2 separate regions of the Homo sapiens genome follow, and region 2 is linked to region 1. The links are contacts of gene promoters, found by promoter capture Hi-C in blood cells and fetal thymus (Javierre and others, 2016). All regions are on one chromosome and are shown on one strand. Each heading gives the region's core, a stretch centred on a gene start or on the middle of the fragment in contact. The rest is flanking DNA. Distances are from core to core; before and after follow the strand shown.

What was found. Contacts are between HindIII fragments. The CHiCAGO score rates a contact against its expected background, and 5 or more counts as called.
Region 2: a fragment that was not itself captured here is called in contact with the fragment with the promoter of KRT84 in region 1 in 2 of 17 cell types (M2 macrophages and M0 macrophages); the score reaches 7.1 in M2 macrophages.

Annotation. Positions count from the first base shown.
Region 1 is chr12:52,384,372-52,387,167 of GRCh38, forward strand. KRT84 (keratin 84) reads right to left here and starts at 1,281. Exons shown (of 9, transcript NM_033045.4): 1 at 669-1,281. The coding sequence starts at 1,214. The HindIII fragment of the contact is 9,508 bases long and covers 1-2,796 here.
Region 2 is chr12:52,533,979-52,536,678 of GRCh38, forward strand. No RefSeq gene overlaps it. Among named protein-coding and RNA genes, the nearest start is that of KRT5, 15 kb to the left of the region's middle. The HindIII fragment of the contact is 1,027 bases long and covers 889-1,915 here.

The DNA of each region.
Region 1 (2,796 bases), core at 31-2,530:
CATCTCCACATAGACATGGTGTGTGGGATGTCAGTTCTTTTGGGTTATCCACATCACTGTTCCCACTCATCTGCCTGGAAGCCAGTGACTACCAGTGGTCATTCCCTGCAATTTCCCTGAATCTAGGCAACTTGGCCGAATTTTGATACCCCATGTGGGGGTATGAATTCTTCTTCTTTTTTTAATTACTCAACTCCATTCTCTACTTTTCTAAGCCTGAATAGATGAGGCCACTCAGCCTCAGAAACTATGAAAACTTCATAAGGAACAAAAGGATCTCAAAGAATAAAACCTCTTAAGCATATACCAGCCAACACCTGGCTAAAGTCCCAGTGTTTCCAGCCTGTTTCAGAGACATTTCTAAGTGACCAGATGCAACATCTTAGTTTGTCGAGATGCCCTCGAGTTTGGCTGGATGCTCCTCTGTCCTCCAGAAGATATCAACACTGTCGGAATCTATCCCACCATGCAGCTCGTCCTCTGGCTTGGCCTTGCTCTGCAGCAGAGCAACCCATAAAGCATACCACAATGCCTGAGGTAGGCACTTGAAAGATCTGAGGTCAAGGTCAAGTCCCCAGAACCGGGCCAGTTCTTTTTAAGGGAAAGAGCACTCTAGCGCATTTTGGCTGTAATATTCCTAGACCCAGAGATTCAGCTATCATAGGTACCTTGTCAATGAAGGAGGCAAACTTGTTGTTGAGGGTCTTGATTTGCTCCTTCTCATCCTTCTTCACCCTCTGGGCATTGGGGTCAATCTCCAGGTTGAGGGGGGTCAGTAGGCTCTTGTTCACAGTCACAGCTGTGATAGATGGGGCTGCTGGGACTCCAACCCCTCCAACTCTGTAACCAAAGCCAGGGCCACCAAAGCCATAGCCAATGCCACTGCCAGCTCCAAAGCCCAGACCAACACAGCTGTCAGCCCTAGGCCCCAGACCAACACCTCTCCCATCACCAAAACCCATCCCACAGCCAGCACCAAAGCGGACTCCACAGTGGATGGGCCGAGAGCCTACAGCTGCTATCCGGGGTGAGTACGATCCAAAGGTGATGACACTCCGACTACCAAAGCTGCCAAGGCCCCGGAATCCAGGCCCACTCCAACAGGAGACAGAGTTGGCCCGGAAGCGATTCAGGTTCTGTGGTGTCATTGCTGAACAAGAGCTGAAGTTGCCCACCCGGTGACCAGAGCTGACTCGGTAGGAGCGGCAAGACATGATGGCTTCCTGGTTGGGAGCAAAAGAGCAAGTGTAGAATGGGTGAGCTGGAGCTGGGAGTCCCTCTGAGGCCAGTGGAACCCTTGCACCCCTTTTATGTGTGTGGTGATCTGAGGCTTGGCCCCATAAAAATGAAAAAATCCATTTGCAGGCATTTATGAGCTTGGGTAGTTAGCAGAAACTCTGCATGCCTATAACCTCCTTGACAATGAGTTAACTCAGACACACCTAGTCTCATTGGGATGAGGGCTGTAACAGCAAACCAATAAACATTAAAAACACATAAACATATAAACATTATAGTCTTTTTTTTCCCTATAAGTCTACCACAATTGCCATTAAGGGGACATTAATTTGCTTTGGTCATAAATGCAATAGGTTTTTTCACTGTGAGTGTGGCTAACCACCAGAAAGTTAGGATGGCGACAGCTCCAGCAAGAGGCTCACATGGGATGCATCCATGAAGATATAACCCCCTAAAGAGGTGGGAGTGTGTGCACATCTCCAAGTAAGAAGTGATATGGAGAAAATACAGTTTGTTGCATTTCTGCAAATCAATTAAATCATCAAAAAACCTTCTGCCATGTTTTATCCAATATGGCTGTTTAGTATACAAGAGTTGAATCTACAGTAAAGCTCATTTGGGCTAGTGTAGACACATCTGTGATTTGAGACACTCAGAGATATTCATTCATTCTACAGTTTTAGAGTGCCTGCTATGTATCCAGCAGTGTGCTTGCTGCTGAGGGTACAGAGATTACAAAGACAGTCTCTATCTTCATGGTAGTAGGGGAAGATTTATCTTAAATTTTTTTTTTTTTTTTAGAGACATGATCTAGTTGCCCAGGCTGGTCTTGAACTCCTGGGCTCAAGTGATCCTCCCGCCTCCGCCTCCCAGATAGCTGGGACTACAGGCATCCACCACCATGCCCAGCAGAACATTTATCTTGAGGATTTCCAGCAGTCAACACTTTGTGGCATGATTTGAGGCCAAAGCATTGGAAAGTTTCTGTATAGAAAGCTAACTACATGATTTTTAGCCCCCAAATATACCATAGGTGTGATTTATGGGCCTGTCCATTTAGGTTCCTTGAATTATTGATGAATCTTTGGTTAGGATAGAGAGACACAAAGCAATATACATCTGGATAGAAAAGGAAAAGTTCTCAGCAGCTGAATATTATCATTGTTAGCAATATTGCAGCTCTTTTAGGACCCTGAGCCAGGCTGGTGTTTACCTTTTCTATTCTAGTGCATCCTTTGCCCAGGGGAACTCATGTTTGACTGGACGCTTGAGATTCTTTGGGATGCTTGCAATTCCACTTGGAAGGGGATGTATGCTTTTGACCAGAAGCATCCAGCTCATTTGTGCGGTATTTTCTTTTTCCAGCTATCAGCTGTATGTCTAAGGGGGAAATGAAGCAGAAAAACAATAAGAAGTGCATACTTCTCGTCAAGACCACCAGTGGCCTCCATGTTAAATTCAATGGTCTGTCCTCAGTTCTCACTTTCTTCACATAGCTGACCATGCCCTTTCTCTTGAAACACGCTCTTCTTTTGATTTTCGGACACTACACTCTCT
Region 2 (2,700 bases), core at 152-2,651, 150 kb after region 1:
TGTAGGCAAGGGAGCAAAGCCAGGGGTAGGAAGAGAAAGGGGCAGGCTGCAGGCCAGGAGCTGGGAATTCTCTCCATGCTGCCACATTCCAGAGTTCTGGAACTCTGACGAGTCCAAAATTAAAATCTCCAACTGAGCCTGGCCTACTGGGTCCGTCTGTGGGAGACTCAAACCTCTTGGTCCACTGGCCTGGAGACATTTTAGAAGTGGAGGCTTTGTCTCGGAGCATGGAGGGGATAGGCCTGCCTGGGCTCCCGGCCTGCTGACTGTGTTCTGCTTGACACCAGGCCAGCTGGGCTAAGCGTTCAGATGTAAAGAGGAAGCTGCTGGGGCCTCCTGACAGCAGATGCAAAGCTGAGGTACCCAAACACCTCGACCTTTCTCAGGGGCTCATGTAAGCAAATTGCTTTATCAGCTTTATCAGTTTTTACATTTTCCTTACGCATTTTCATAGAATTTGCCCCATATTCCATGCCATTTTCTCAGGACATCCTTTTGAGCATCCTGGACCCAACCGTCTTCATATAAGAAGAAAAATTTTAGTTTTGGTTTCATCCATGATTATCCTAGACCCAAACATTTAGAAATAAGTTGTTATATGGAATAGCCACCCGAAGGTGTGAGTTTGGGCATAAAAAGCACACATTGCATATATCCTTATCTGTATAGAGTCACGTGGACCTGATTCTGCCACCTTCTGGCTGCGTCACCTGGGGCAAGTTATTTAACGCCTCTAAGCCTCAGGTTCCCCATCTGTAATCTGAAGCCCTGGCCTAGTAGATCTCTAGATAAACTCTAACATCACTCCTACCCCTAAAACTCTGGTACTTACCCCCTTTACTCTTCCTTCTTTATTTTGCATTCAGCCCAGGGATCTCATCTTCCCAAAGCTTCTTTCATGTTCCTGCCCCTTTTACCTTCACAGTTCCTGACATTGGAGAAGGCAGTGTTTTAAAGCCCAGCTCCAATGCCCTTTAATCCAGAAAGCCACACTCTTCAGTCGCTACATTGGAAGACCCACCTTGGAGGCTGGACGGAAACCTGGGGGTTCACCCAGCTCAACCCCCTCATTTAACAGGAAGGGAAACTGAGGGCAAAATGAGGCAGTGACTTAGAGACAGAGCCAGGTCTGGAACCCAAATGCCCTTTAACCTTGCCACCTCTGGGATCCACAACCCTCAGGGCCACCATTTTAACTTGCACATATTATTATTACTGTGATCATCTGTGCTTCCTTAGAACCTTAATACCTCTGAGGGCCAGAATCACATTGTGTTCATTCTGTAGCCACCCTGTCCTGCGCCAACCCTCCAGCATCATCCCTGTACCAGATGGTACCTCAATAAGTGTCTGTTAAGTTTCACTAAACATAAATCCCATTTTGATCGTTGCAAAAAAACCACGTCTCATTTGAAGACCTCCCTGTGTTCTTATATCTGACTACTGTTGTGGTAGAGCAAACTGAAAGGGTTTGCAAAAGCCGATTGTTAAATTTTGAAGAACGTTGTGAGCTGTTATTAAACATAGCCATAATTCAAATTAAATTATGTAAAATTATAGTTAAATACATTGCATTAAAAACAAAGGGAAGAAATGTTTAAAACTCATCATTTTCTAATTTTATTATACTTTACTTTGATATATTATCAAAGTTCTTGTGGTTGTTGACATTTATTGAATCTACATGCAGAAATCCCCTACCATGGTGTTCACATCTCTTTCCAGCCTGTAATCAGTGACATCATGTTGGTAGCTTGAAATCACCTTTGTGGGAGAATTTACCCCAAGCGAACTGGCAAGCACTACAAATCAGAGCTTGGTTTATTGTTTGGTTGATTGTCTGGAGCTGCACAGCCTCACACAGCTGCCACTAGTTCCATGTGGCTAACTGAGCACTTGAAATGTGGCTAGTCCAAGCTTAGATATGTCATATGTACTGGATATTGAAGATTCAGAATGGAAGAAAAGAATGTAAAATATATCATCAAAAATGTTTATATTGATTATCTATTGAAAGAATAGTGTTTTCTATATATTATGTCAAATATATTAGAATTAATTTAGTCTATTCCTTAAATGTGGCTACTAGCAGATTTTAAATAATATCTGTGGCTTTCATTGCATTTCTACTGGACAGCTCTGGTCTAAATTTAATAAAGTGATGGGGAAAATGTTTATAACGTAGATTAAAATTAAAAGTATGTTGTGCCCATTGATAATAACATTATGAATAGCCAAAAAATACAAAATAATATCCCGGTATTTAAAACCCATTATCTGATTCAGCCAAAAAGTCACTCACATCATTGAGGAGCAAGTAAGTTCCAACATTCATCTTCATCATTTCACGTTCATCTTAACTGTGAAGATGAACATGGGAGCTAACATTCATGTGGGGGCTATGCTGGTTTGTTGGTTGCAGCCACTGGCCAGCCATGGGCATAAGAGTTTGTCAAAAGCCAACTGAAAGCATTCCATGAGGGTCACTTGGCTGTATCAAGTTTATAATAAAGAGTATTGTAGGGCTGGGCACGGTGGCTCACGCCTGTAATCCCAGCACTTTGGGAGGCCGAGGTGGGTGGATCATGAGGTCAGGAGATCGAGACCATCCTGGCTAACATGGTGAAACCCCATCTCTAATAAAAATACAAAAAATTAGCCGGGCGTGGTGGCGGGCGCCTATAGTCCCAGCTACTTGGG